Linked DNA regions of Homo sapiens: all the other regions are linked to region 1. The links are contacts of gene promoters, found by promoter capture Hi-C in blood cells and fetal thymus (Javierre and others, 2016). All regions are on one chromosome and are shown on one strand. Each heading gives the region's core, a stretch centred on a gene start or on the middle of the fragment in contact. The rest is flanking DNA. Distances are from core to core; before and after follow the strand shown. Region 1 holds the start of SLC17A7 (solute carrier family 17 member 7). Region 2 overlaps SNRNP70 (small nuclear ribonucleoprotein U1 subunit 70). Region 3 has its middle 4.6 kb from the start of SNRNP70.

Region 1 (4,782 bases), core at 1,058-3,557:
CACGTCTTTGTCTCCTTATGTCCCTCTGCTCTCTCTTCTCTTCCCATTGTACAACTAAGGAAACTGAGGCTCGGGGAGCTGAAGTGGCACTCCAAGGTCACAGACAAGAACAGCAATGGGACCTGATCCCTTACTGGCCCTCGGCATCCCCCTGCCCAAGACCTGGCTCTCAGAAAGGAGGCACCTTGGGTTCTCATCTCTCTGGCATCCCATTCCCCCATGTCCTTGTTCCAAGTCACCCTGGGTGCAAGGAAGCTCCCCACCAGCTGTGGCATCACTCTTCTCAAGGAAGAGCTCTGTTCTAGGCTTGGGAGGGAGACTGACCTGGGTTCAAATCATGGGGCTCATACTCATCCACTGATCTCCCCAACCCCAGAATGGAGCCTCAGTTTCCCCATCTTTGTCTAGAGGATTAAATGAGATCAACCTGTTGTCTCTAATATGGGGTATTCCCCTCTCCCTCCAACCATCAGAGCAAACCCCAGGCATTGGAAGCAAATGCTTTTCTCTGCACAAACTCCCTGCTGATGGTCCTGGCCAGAGCCCGGGGGTCTCTGGGGACCCAAGAGGTAACTCAGAGAGTGAGAGCCAGAGAGATTGACTGTGAGAAACCCTAGCACAGATGAGAAACAGAGGCAGAGACTGAGGGAGGGGCCTGAGGAATACATCCCTCCCGCTGCCACCCCCCAGCCCCCTCCACCAGCACGTCTCTTTCTCTCTCTCTCATTCTCCTGACTTCACACTGATGTATTTTGAGAAACTCGTGAAAGGAGGCGAGAAAAAGGGTGGGGAGGGGCTGGAAAATTGGAAAAAGAAGGGGTGAGGTTATCTCAGCTTCCCCTCCACCACCAACCTCCGTCACTGCACCATCCTCCTGCCCACCTCCCCCCACTTCTGTCCAGCCTTATTCTTGTCTCTCATGTTACTAGAGGGTGGGGTAACTTTGGAGCTAAGAGGTGATCTGCAGCAAGCAAGACTGATGTTAGACTTAGCAAAGGACCCCCATGGCCTAGCGAGGTGGACTGAAGCTCAGCGAAACACAGGGTCAGGGCTGTGGGCCAAGGGGACAGGGCCTGAGGGCACGGCGGCAGGGGCATGGTGCTGATGAGGCCATCTCCTTCGTGCACTGTGGCCAGATATATTTTTAGGCTTTTCCGCAGCTGAGTAATTTATCTGACTTAGAGCCAAAGCTGGGGTTGGGGGTGAGAGCCTGTGGGGAGGTGTCCAGATTATCCTGAGGGACACTCGGTTCACTGGGGTCATCAACCTGGTTGGGAGGGAGTCCCTGTCAGCCCCAGCCTGTATCCTTTGGGAAGGCTGTCCTACCCCAGGAGCCGAAATTTTTGGCCTCTAACTCCTTTCTCTCCCAGGGACCCAGGGTGCTGTGACTTCTTCCACCCAGCCTCACCCCCTCAAGGACAACGGGCTATGAGCCCCAATCCGCTTTAGCTGCAGATTAAACTCCATGCCAGACAGAAACGGAAAAAGACACAGAGAGACGGAGAGACCCATGGTGGGAGAATTAAAACACAGAGACGGGGACAGGGACCCAGAGAAGTGGGGACCAGAGATCCAGGGAAGAGGAGAGACCCAGAAAGAGGGGGACAGAGACTCTGAGTCAGGAGTTGATAGAGATCCAGTGAGAGCAATGGCCAGAGAACCAGAGAGAGGGGCACAGAGACGCAAAGAAGCGGAGGCAGAGATCTAGGGAGAAGGAGGGGCCCAGAGAGAAGGGAGCCGAGATCTGGAAAAAGAGGGAGACGGAGACCCAGAGAGAAAAGGGGCAGAGACATCCAGAAAGAGACGGGGACAGAGACCCAGAAGTGGTGGGGGAGGAGCCAGAGACCCGGGAGAGAGGCATTTACAGCACCAGAGAGAGTGGAGCCGGGTGGGGTGGGGTGCAGAAAAAGGAACAGGATAATGGACAAGGCTCGACCAGGGAGAACAGCGCCGTCGGAGCCCACGGCAGAAAACTGGACAGATGGGTGGACCCCCATGCCGGGGTATCGCCCGTTCATCTGTCAGTCTGCGCCCAGGTGGGAATTAGCATCCTCCTCAGATCCTCCCACTCTTCTCCCGGGACCCCCGCCAGGCTCACCGGTGCAGCTTCCCGAGAGCACGACCCGCTAGCTTCCGAAACTCCTCCTGGCGGAACTCCATGGTGGCGGCTCCTGCCGCCGGTCACCCCGCGGGTCCCCCCCGCCGATCCCCCCGCCCGCGGGCCCGGGCGGCCGCGTCCGGGTTCCCGGGGTCCAGCCCCGGCCCGGCCGGCCCCGCAGCTCCGCTCGGGGGGAAGGAGGCTGCAAGTGCAGGCGGCCCGGGGGCTGTCACAGGACTCAGCGCCGGGGGCGGGGCGCGGGAGGCCCCGCCCCGGCCCCACCAGGCCCCTCCCCTCGTCTGTCAGACCCGCCCCCTCTCGCAGCCCTTTCATCCTCGTCCTGTCCCCTCCTGAGCCTTCCAAGACCACGCCTGTGGGTTCTGAACTCACGCCTCCGAGTTCACGCCCCCCAATTCTGTTCCTTCCCCAGGCTACTCCCCCTATCCCTGTTCCATCACCCCTGGCTCCTACCCAGATTTTCTCTCCTCTCCTGAGTTCTCATCCCCATCATTTCTCTCCCCGACTTCTGTTCCCCCTAATTGCGTCCCTTACAATCCTGTCTTCTCTGACTTTCCCTCTGCGTTCATCCTCCAGTTCCTTCACTCCTCCCCGCCCCCACCCCGCAATTCCATCCCCATCCCACCTCGTCCCCAGTTCCAATAGTCTCATCCAGGGAGTTCTTTGTTTTCTCATTCAAGGGAAATTCTTTCCCCTCAAGTCCAACGCCTACTTCGATCCACCTGTCGTCCCCCTCTAGTCCCTTTCGCCACCCGGGTTCTTCACCCTTGAGCTCCATCTCCTCCTTAGTTTCCATCTTTCCCCTTTGAATCCCATACTCCTCCAGCTCTATTCTCCCTCCGGCGTCTCTCTCCTCCCTGTTGCTTCTCTCCCTGAGTTTCATTCCCTAACCCCGATTTTCTTCCCTCTGGCTTCCGCCCCCCACAGTTATATTTCACACACCCCGCCAGTGCCAGCTGCGACCCCATAGTCTCCCCATTGTGTTATTTCTCTGCTCCTCTGGGATCTGTCCGCGCTCTGAGTTCTTCCCTAGCTCCGGGGGATCCATTCCTCTATTTGAGTTCTGTCTCCACCCCCTGAGATCTGTCCCGCCCCCTAAATTGTGATCCGCACCCCCTGGCATCCTCACCCGCCCTCTGAATTTGTCTCCTCCCCTAGGATCTGTCGCTGACCTGAGTTCTGCCCCCGCCCTCTGAGTTCTCTCCCCACCGTTGGAGTTGTGTCCCCTTCTCCTAGGATCTGTCCCTGGCTCTGTTCCCGCCCTCTCAGTTCTGTCCTTGCCCCCTGGAATCTGTTCCTGCCATCTGAGTTCTACCCCTTCCCCACAGGATCTATCTCTGCCCCCTGGAATCTGTCCCCACCCACCGAGTTCTGGCCTCCGTCCCTGGGATCTGTCCCCGCCCTCTGTGTTCTACCCCTGCCCCATGGGATCTGTCCCCGCCCACCCAGTTCTCCCCGCCCCCTGGATCTCTCCCTACCCTCCCAGTCTTGCCCCGGCCCCATGGGATCTGTCCCCGCCCTCCGACTTCTGACCCTCGCCACTGGGATCTGTCCTCGACCTCCCAGTCCTGCCTCCGCCCCCGGAATCTGACCCCGCCCACCGAGCTCTGGCCTCCGCCCCTGAGATCTGTCCCCGCCCTCCCAGTCTTGCCCCTGCCCCATGGGATCTGTCCCCCGCCCACCGCCTCCGCCTCTGGGATCTGTCCCTGCCCTCCCAGTCCTGCTCCCACCCCCGGAATCTGTCCCCGCCCACCGAACTCTGTCTCCACGCCGGAATTCCAGCGCCGCCCCGTTGGGTAGAGCCCGGCCCTTCCCTGTCCTGGGCCCGCAGACAGGGTCCCGCCCCGCTCCTGTCCTCAGACCAGCCCATCTCCCGGCGCTGAGTCCACCTCCAGATCCAGGCCCCAGGAGGGTGATCCTTTCCCCACTACCTCCCCGCGTCGGGCCGCAAATGCATTTGGTATTAAATTTTCATGATGCGGCCCGCGGTGGGGTGGGAGGAGCAGACGGCGCGTCGGGCGGGCGCCAAGGACGGGGTGGCCGGGAAGCCACTGACCGCCGCAGCCTCTCGCTTCCAGCCTTGACTGGCTGTGTCTCTGGGTCTCACAGCTTTGAGAAACCCCTGGGACCCCAGAACGGAGGACGCTGCGGGTCTGAGGCAGGAGGGAGGTAGGAACTGGGACTCGTGGGGCTGAAGTAGCAGCGCGGGAGCCGCTCACACGCGCCACCCAGTGGCTGCAGAGTCCCCGGCCCGGGTGCGGAGGCGGTGGTTGCGGCTTGGGGCCAGGTGTGAGGGTGGAGCAGATGGTGAAGAGGAGGGAGTGGGAAGCGGGCCCCGCCGCTGCCAAAACTTGGGCCTTTGCCGAAACCATCGCCATGGAAACCGAGGAAGGAGGAAAGGACTCAGCCGCACACTTTTTCAGGACCTGGGAATGAGTTACTCGGCCCCCTCCAGCGGCTCACCGTCCCAACCACAAGTCCCAGCGGCCTCTGAGCCTCAGCGCTCGTTTGAGAAGGGCCGCGCACTCCGAGGGCCGCTGGGAGATGTAGTTCTCTGAGACGATGGGCAGGGAAAGGTTGCGCCCTCTGGTGGACACGGCGCCCACGTTCGCTCATCCGTTCCGCGGCCGGAAAGACCCTACCTGAAGTCACTCCCACCCTGACCT
Region 2 (4,733 bases), core at 815-3,314, 340 kb before region 1:
TGCTTGAGAAGCTGAGGCAGGAGAATTGCTTGAACCTCGGAGGCAGAGGTTGCAGTGAGACGAGATTGCGCCATTGCACTTTAAGCCTGGGCAACAGAGCAAGACTCTGTTTAAAAAAAAAAAAAATCTGAGACTTTATTTCTCTAGCTTCTGGCAACACCCACACTGTCTTCCTGAAAAGGTAGCACCCGAGGGTTCGGGGAAGGAGCCTGGTAGTTCAAGTGCCCGGGGTGAGAGGTGAAGTCTGCCTTGGCCCTTCGCCACTTTAACACCTCCCTTTTTCTGTGTCTCGAGTTTGTTCTGTTTTACTTCCATTTGCAAAATAGTAATAAATAAATATCAGTGTCCAGCACTGTGTCTGGGCCATAGTACGTGTTCAGTAAATTATATGTCTAATGTTCCATTATTGGAACGCTAAGCATGTGGGAGTTATTTATATCCTACTGCTCGGGTCATCACCAGGGTCTGATTTTTCACACGTGTCTGCAATTCAAAAAATTGCAACCTCTGGCATAAATGGGTTAATGTTATTCCTTTTCTCATGCTCTCCCAGAATGTGACAGGGCTTCCGAGGGAAACACTATACCATGGAAGAACCGGCAGAGTGTCCTTAAGGCCCCGGCAGGAGTCAGGGTCATTATGTGCTGGAGCCACCATATTTGGTGAAAAGGACTTATTCCCAGGCCTGACCCAGCAGGATCACCTATGAAATTGGTTTCTTAGGAGATTCCTGGCTCTTTTCTTTGGAGATTGTTATTCCTTAGTAGCCAGGTAGAACAGTTTGCCTCACAGTAGTGAGGCTGGAGTGAGAATCTGATCTGACGCTAGTCAGTTCCTGGGTTCCTTTTTAGAGACACAGGGCACAGACAGGAAAGCAGAGCTTACTTAGTGTTTGCTTTCCTGGCTCTCATTCTTAGCCTTGGGGCAGCTTGGTCTCAGGTTTTCCTGTGGGCTGTAGTTGCAGTCTGTGTCCAGTAGGTGGCAGTGTGGCCCTGCCTACAGGAGGGAGCTCAGAACCTGGGGGCATCAGCTGCATCTCCAGGGAGGCCCAGTTGGGCTATTACTGTTTGGATCACCTTGCATCTGGGAGCGATAGGGCCCTTAGGGTTTATGTAGGTCTGAAATGGCAGTTGGGCCTGCCCACATCCTGTCAGCTTGAAGTCAGCCTTACCTCCTCTCCTCAGCAGCCTGGATTATCTCTCAGCCACTCTGATAAAGCCCACTGTGCCTCAGAGAAACAGGTTCAGAGAGGGGCGTCCCTGAGGTTGCCAGGTCACCACCCATGTTCCTCCAGTTAGGGGCCTCTCCCAATGCCACCGTTTTCTTCTTGGCCTCTGCCCATCGTATTTGTTTTGCTACCTGAGACCATGGACACCTTCAACTTATAAAATTCCTTTCTTCCTGCACAGGGGACCCTCACAATGATCCCAATGCTCAGGGGGATGCCTTCAAGACTCTCTTCGTGGCGAGAGTGGTAAGTCCCCAGCTCCTAGCTCCTGGAACCCCACGCTGCTGAGAGCCTGGGTCTGGCACAAAGGTCAAATAGGCTAGGTACAGGGGAATGTTCCAGGGGCTGTGGGACAGCTCTGTTCTCCCATTTAACGTCATATCCATCTCCTTGTAGAATTATGACACAACAGAATCCAAGCTCCGGAGAGAGTTTGAGGTGTACGGACCTATCAAAAGAGTAAGTGGAGTGGGTCAGGGTGTTTGAATTGGGGGTGCATGGAGGAGGGGCTGTATCCTGAGAGGGAGGGAGAGAGGTCCCAGCCCTGAGCATGGCTCACACCATTTCAGGGCCTGGATTTATGCATCCTGACTGTATCTCCATGCAGCAGACCTTGGGCAGCAGAAGTAAAATGAGAAGTAATGACTGCTGGTGGTTGGTTGAGAGCAGGGGTTGGCAAACTACAGACTTAAAGTTTTCCTGCTGCTCAGCCAGGCAGGTCTGTTTGTTTACACATTGTCTTTGGCTGCTACTGTTGTAAGGCAGGGTTGGATTGTTGCAACAGTATACGGCCGTCCAAGCTGGAAATATCTACTCTCTGGGTCTTGGCAGAATACCTATGCTGAGTCCCGTTTTAGAGGAAGGCTTTGTTTTACCAATCTTCTTTTAAGTCACTGAAGTGCTCTGTGTCTGATTTCCTTTATCTAACATGGGAGACGCATGCCTTCACTGGGCAGTAGTGAGGGCTTGAGGCCATCCTACACACAAACTGATGTTAGCCATGTCTCTTCTCCCTGCTCTGTTTCTGATACGTCTTTTAAAAATATTTATACATGTCAGGCCGGGTGCAATGGCTCACACCTGTAATCTCAGCTCTTAAGGAGGCAGAGGCGGGAGGATAGCTTAAACCCAGGAGTTCGAGACCTGCCTGGGCAATATAGCAAGACCCCGTTCTCCACACAAAGGAAAAAAAAAGTATTGTTGGGCCAGGCACGGTGGCTCACGCCTGTAATCCCAGCACTTTGGGAGGCCGAGGTGGGCGGATAACCTGAGGTCAGGAGTTCGAGACCAGTCTGACCAACATGGTGAAACCTGGTCTGTACAAAAAAAAAAAAAATACAAAAATTAGCTGGGCATGATAGCGGGCGCCCGTAATCCCAGCTACTGAGGAGGCTGAGGCAGGAGAATTGCTTGAACCCAGGAGGCGGAGGTTGCAGTGAGCCGAGATCACACCACTGTACTCCAGCCTGGGCAACAGAGTGGGACTCCATCTTAAAAAAAAAAAAAAGTATTGTAGGCTGGGCGTGGTAGCTCACGCCTGTAATCCCACATGTTGGGAGGGCGAGGCAGGCAGATCACCTGAGGTCAGGAGGCAAGACCAGCCTGGCCAACATGGCGAAACCCCGTCTCTACAAAAATACAAAAGATTAGCCGAGTGTGGTGTCTCGTGCCTGTGTGTGTGTGTGTATGTGCATGTGTATATATGTGTACACACACACACACACGTTGTTCTGCCTTGCACAGCCCAGTGACAACCTTGGCCCCACCCTTGTCCCTCTGATCCATTCAAGTCAGGAATCTTGGTTGTGTTTTGGAGGCTGTGGGGTCCCAGGTTCATCCATGATACAGGTTGGTCGCCAACTGGTAGTGATGTGAATGGCGAACTAGCCATCCTTTAGGGACCAGCTCAAATGCTGTTACCTCCCAGAAATCTTCCCTGGTTCATTCTGGCCACCTCTGTCTCAACAGCCCTGCCTTGCCCGTTGTTCTCCCTGACATGGTCCCCAAGGGGTCTTTCTGACATCCAGAGCTGACCCCATCTCTGCTGACAGCATCCCATGGGTCCCTAGCATGTTAGGACAGGTCCAGCTGCCACCATCTGGCCTTCCAGGGCTCTTCCCCAAGCTGTGTGGCCTCATGGACCTCCACCCCACCCCATCTCCTCCCTTCTCTTGCTGCCATCCTCGGGATGGGACGCATCCCTCATCGTGCCACGTTCTCTCAAGCCTCCCTGGCTGTGCACGTGTCCTTTCTTTTTCCCTTAGAACTTCCCTGTCCTTGGCCAGGCACAGTGGCTCACGCCCGTAATCCCAGCACTTTGGGAGGCCGAGAAGGGCAGATCATGAGGTCAGGATTTCAAGACCAGCCTGGCCAACATGGTGAAACCCCATCTCTACTAAAGATACAAAAAATTACCCAGGTGTGGTGGCGCACGCCTGTAATCCCAGCTACTTGGGAGGCTGAGGCAGGAGAATCGCTTGAACCCGGGAGGTGCAGGTTGCAGTGAGCTGAGATTGAGCCATTGCACTCTAGCCTGGGCAACAGAGCAAGACTCTGTCTCCAAAAAAAAAAAAAAAAAAAAGAATTCCCGTCCCATTGGCATTCACAACTCCCTCCTGTTTCCCTAATTCCATTTGTGTCCTCCTGACTCCACGTAGACCACCCACATTGGCCCTTCCTTGCTCAACACCCTTCCCAGCTCCTCAGCGACCACACTTCTCGGCCTGGCATTGGGGCGCTTGATGACCCCGGGCCTGCCCACCTTTGTGGCTTCATCTCCTGGGACTCTCTGTCATCAGTACATGAGCCAGCCCTGCCGAAGCGCATCCCCAGCCTCCTGCCCTCCTGCCCCCGGGCCCTTGGACCTCTGGAGTTACTGCTATTCCACCTGACAGGCTGACACCTCACTGTCTTCCTTCATCTCTCTTCTTTCTTTAGGTCTTAGCTTAAGTGTCATTTTCTCCAGGAAGCCGCCTCTGTGTCCTCTGCTCCTGCCATTAGAACATAAGTCACTCAGGGCTCTTGAAGGACAGAGAGGGTCTGAGGCCTCATCCGGCCCAGGGCCTGGTGTGCAGGCTGTTGTGGGGTTGGTGGGGCGGAGCCGCCCTGTGGCAGGACTCACCCCTGTCCCCATGTGCCCCACAGATACACATGGTCTACAGTAAGCGGTCAGGAAAGCCCCGTGGCTATGCCTTCATCGAGTACGAACACGAGCGAGACATGCACTGTGAGTACCTCCCGCCGAGCCCTGCCCTCTGACCTGCTCTCACTTCTCTGCTGCCCCAGCCCCTCCCAGTCTGTCCCCTCCCCCACCCTGCCACACCTGACATTAGCGATGTCTCTTCTCCTCCTCCCTCTGTTTCTGATGTATCTTTTTTTTTTTTATATACGTGTTTTTTAAAAAACAAAAACCAAATCCCCCACAACGTGTGTGTGTGTGTGAACCTGGGGAGGTAAGTGTCACACGTTGAACCTCAGGGGCAAAGAGGGAACTGGGTGGGGGGCT
Region 3 (4,131 bases), core at 266-2,765, 360 kb before region 1:
GATCTCGGCTCACTGCAAGCTCCGCCTCCCGGGTTCACGCCATTCTCCTGCCTCAGCCTCCCAAGTAGCTGGGACTACAGGCGCCCGCCACTACGCCCGGCTAATTTTTTTGTATTTTTAGTAGAGACGGGGTTTCACCGTTTTAGCCGGGATGGTCTCGATCTCCTGACCTCGTGATCCGCCCGCCTCGGCCTCCCAAAGTGCTGGGATTACAGGCGTGAGCCACCGCGCCCGGCCTATTTTATTTATTTTTTGAGACAGAATCTCACTCTGTTGCCCAGGCTGGAGTGCAGTGGTGCGATCTCGGTTCACTGCAACCTCCGCCTCCTGGGTTCAAGCAAGTCTTCTGCTTCAGCCTCCTGAGTAGTTGAGATTACAGGTGTGCGCCACCATGCCCGGCTAATTTTCTTTAAAATTTTTGGTAGAGATAAGGTCTCACTATGTTGTCCAGGCCGATCTTAAATTCCTGGGCTCAAACAATCCTCTGGCCTCAGCCTCCCAAAGCGCTAGGATTACATGTGTGAGCCACTGGCCCTGCTCTGCCTTTTTTTTTTTTTTTTTTTTTTTTTTTTGAGATGGAGTCTCACTCTGTCACCCAGTCTGGAGTGCAGTGGCCCAATCTTGGCTCACTGCAACTTCCACCTCCACAGACGCGTGCCACCACGCCCGGCTAAAATTTTTTTTGTATTTTAAGTAGAGATGGGGTTTCACTGTGTTATCCAGGCTGGTCTCAATTTCCTGACCTTGTGATCCACCTGGCTTGGCCTCCCAAAGTTCTGGGATTACAGGCATGAGCCACCGTGCCCGGGCTAATTTTTGGTCTCAATATGTTGGCCAGGCTGGTCTCGAACTCCTGACCTGAGGTAATCCTCCCACATCAGCCTTCCAAAGCGCTGGGATTACAAGTGCGAGCTATTGTGTTGGGCCTGTTTTGTTTCATTTTCACTTTGAACTATTTGTAGCCTTACAGAAGAGTTGCAAAGATTGTACAGACATTTAAAAAATATCCATCACCCAGGTTCCCCAAATGTTAGAATGTTGCATTGCTTTGGCAACGTTTGTTAAAGCTCAGACATTGGCCGGAGCAGTGCCTCGCGCCTGTAGTCCTAGCACTTTGGGAGGCTAGAGGGGACGGATCACCTGAGGTCAGGAGTTTGAGACCAGCCTGGCCAACATGGTGAAACCCCGACTCTACTAAAAGTACAAAAATTAGCTGGGCGTGGTGGCGGGTGCCTGTAGTCCCAGCTACTCGGGAGGCTGAGGCAGGAGAATGGCTTGAACCCGGGAGGTGGAAGTTGCAGTGAGCCAAGATCGCACCACTGCACTCCAGCCTGGGTGAGAGAGCCAGACTCTGTCTCAAAACCAAGACATTGAGGTGGCACAATACTTTTGACAAAATGAAAGAGTTCATTCAGGTTTTCTATATTTCCACTAATGTCTTTTTCCCACGCCAGGCTGCAGTCGGGGTTACTATGTTGCATTTGGTTGTCATACCTCCTTAGTCTTCTGCAATCTGTGATAGTTTGTTACTTTTTCCTTGTCTTTCATGATCTGGAAACTAGAAGAATACTAGTCAGTTGTTTTGTAGACTGTCTCTCAATTTGTGTTCCTCTGATCTGTTATCTTGCTTGGATTGAGGTTATACTTTTTGTTGGGTGGGGGTAGAGAGAATGCCACAGAGAGGCATTGCTCTTCTCATTATATCATACTGGGGGGTGTATGATGTCCATATGCCATATCACTGGTGATGTTAACATTTTTTTTCTTGAGACAAGGTCTCACTCTGTTGCCCAGGCTGGAGTGCAGTGTTGTAATCATAGTTCACTGCAGCCTTGACCTCCCAGGCTCAAACAGATCCTCCCACTTCAGCCTCTCAAGTAGCTGGGACTACAGACCTGAGCCACCACACCCGAATAATTTAAATCTATCTTTCTTTCTCTTTCTTTTCTTCTATTTCTTTTTGTTGTTGTTGTTGTTTTTGACGTAGTTTGGCTCTTGTTGCCCAGGCTGGAGTACAATGGCGCGATCTTGGCGATTCTCCTGCCTCAGCCTCCTGAGCAGCTGGGATTACAGGTGTGTGCCACCACACCTGGCTGATTTTTGTATTTTTAGTAGAGATAGGGTTTCACTGTGTTGGCCAGGCTGGTCTTGAACTCCTGATCTCAGGTGATCCACCCACCTCGGCCTTCCAAAGTGCTGGGATTACAGGCGTAAGCCACCGTGCCTGGCAAGTTTTCATTCTTAAAAAGGGATGTTCTGGACCAGGTGCGGTGGCTCACGCCTGTAATCCCAGCACTTTGGGAGGCCAAGACAGGCGGATCACGAGGTCAGGAGATCAAGACCATCTTGGCTAACACAGTGAAGCCCCGTCTCTACTAAAAATACAAAAAATTAGCCGAGTGTGGTGGCAGGCGCCTGTAGTCCCAGCTACCCAGGAGGCTGTGGCAGGAGAATGACATGAACCTGGGAGGCGGAGCTTGCAGTGAATCGAGATTGCGCCACTGCACTCCAGCCTGGGTGGCAGAGCAAGACTCTGTCTTAAATAAATAAATAAATAAAGAGAGGCAGCCAGGCTCTGTGGCACATGCCTGTAGTCCCAGCTACTTGGAGGCTGAGGCAGAAGGATTGTTTGAGCCCAGGAAGTTCTGGGCTGTAGTGTGTTATGCTGATTAGGTGTCCATACTAAGTTTGGCTTCAATATGGTAACCTCCCATGCGTGGGAGACTACCAGGTTGCCTAGCAGGGGTTGAACTGACCTAGGCTGGAAATGGATCAGGTCAAAACTCCCATGTTGATCAGGAGTGGGATCATGCCTATGAATAGCCACTGCACATGAGCCTGAGTGACACAGTGAGACCCTGTCTCTGAAAAATCAATCAATAAATAGGAAGCACAGCATAAAAGTTTAGAAAAGTCACAACCTGGCAATGTGGTAGAGAAGGGAAGAGCATTTTTTAGGAGAGAAATAGAAGCAGGCTGTATTGCCTTGCTGGAGAGGTTGCGTGACTAAAAGGAAGCCAAGTGCTAACATCCAAGACAATGGGAAAAAGGCCTTGAAGGCATTTCAGGAGTCTTCAAAACAGCCTCCCCCATCACAGGCTCTGAGGCATATAAGGAAAGAGTGGTTTACTGGGCCAGATCCAGGGCCCTGTCTCCTGCTCAGCCTGGGGACACTGCTCCCCTGCATCCCTGCTGTTCGATCACCAGCCATGACACACAGGGTCCCAAGTACAGCTTGGGCCACCACTCCAGAGGGTGCAAGCCATAAACTTTGGCAGCTTTCATGTGGGATTAAGCCTGCAGGTGCACAGAATGCAAGAGTGAAGGAAGCTTAGCAGCTCCCACCTGGATTTCAGAGGATGTGTAGGAAAGCCTGGGTGTCCAGGCAGAAGTCGGCTGCATGGTTGGAGTCCCTACAGAGAGCCTCTACTAGGACAGTGCCAAGGGGGAAAGGTGGGGTTGGAGGCCTAACATAGAGTCCCCACCAGGGCGCTGCCTAGTGGAGCTGTGAGAAGGGGACCCCTCCTCTCTAGATCCCAGAGTGACAGGTCTGCCAGCAGATTGCACCCTGAGCCTACAACAGCTGCAGGCACTAAACTCCAACCTGTGTGAGGAGACATTGGGGCTGGACTTTGCTGCCCAAGACTTTGGGAGCCCACTCCTTGCACCAGTGTGCCTTGGATGCAGAACATGGAATCAGGGATTATTTTGGAGCTTTAAAGTTTTTTTTTGTTTTTGTTTTTGTTTTGAGACAGAGTCTTTCTCTGTTGCTCAGGCTGGAGTGTAGTGGTGCAATCTTGGCTCACGACAACCTTCGCCTCCCGAGTTCAAGCAATTCTTCTGTCTCAGCCTCCTGAGTAGCTGGGATTACAGGCACCTGCCACCACACCTGGCTAATTTTTGTATTTTTAGTAGAGATGAGGTTTCACCATCTTGGCCAGGCTGGTCTTGAACTCCTGACCTCGTGATCCATCCACCTCGGCCTCCCAAAGTGCTGAGATGACAGGTGTGAGCCACTGTGCCAGGCTAGAGCTTTAAAGTTTAATGTCTTCTCTGCTGTGTTTCAGACTTCTGTTAAGCCTATTGTCCCTTTCCTTTGGCAGATTTCTCCCTTTTATTTTATTATTATTA

Evidence for each region. The method cuts DNA at HindIII sites, captures the fragments that hold promoters and counts their contacts. A CHiCAGO score of 5 or more calls a contact.
Region 2: a fragment that was not itself captured here is called in contact with the fragment with the promoter of SLC17A7 in region 1 in 1 of 17 cell types (naive B cells); the score reaches 7.2 in naive B cells.
Region 3: a contact is called between a fragment that was not itself captured here and the fragment with the promoter of SLC17A7 in region 1, in 1 of 17 cell types (naive B cells). The highest score is 5.4, in naive B cells.

What each region holds. Positions count from the first base shown.
Region 1 is chr19:49,439,220-49,444,001 of GRCh38, forward strand. It overlaps SLC17A7 (solute carrier family 17 member 7), which reads right to left and starts at 2,308. Exons shown (of 12, transcript NM_020309.4): 1 at 2,099-2,308. The coding sequence starts at 2,160. RefSeq lists an enhancer at 4,602-4,711. The HindIII fragment of the contact is 19,375 bases long and covers 1-4,782 here.
Region 2 is chr19:49,097,018-49,101,750 of GRCh38, forward strand. It overlaps SNRNP70 (small nuclear ribonucleoprotein U1 subunit 70), which reads left to right. Exons shown (of 10, transcript NM_003089.6): 5 at 1,410-1,474; 6 at 1,625-1,687; 7 at 4,373-4,454. Among named protein-coding and RNA genes, the nearest start is that of SNRNP70, 14 kb to the left of the region's middle. RefSeq lists enhancers at 2,899-3,754, 3,755-4,608. The HindIII fragment of the contact is 8,758 bases long and covers 1-4,733 here.
Region 3 is chr19:49,078,765-49,082,895 of GRCh38, forward strand. It overlaps the pseudogene RN7SL708P. Among named protein-coding and RNA genes, the nearest start is that of SNRNP70, 4.6 kb to the right of the region's middle. The HindIII fragment of the contact is 3,625 bases long and covers 1-3,328 here.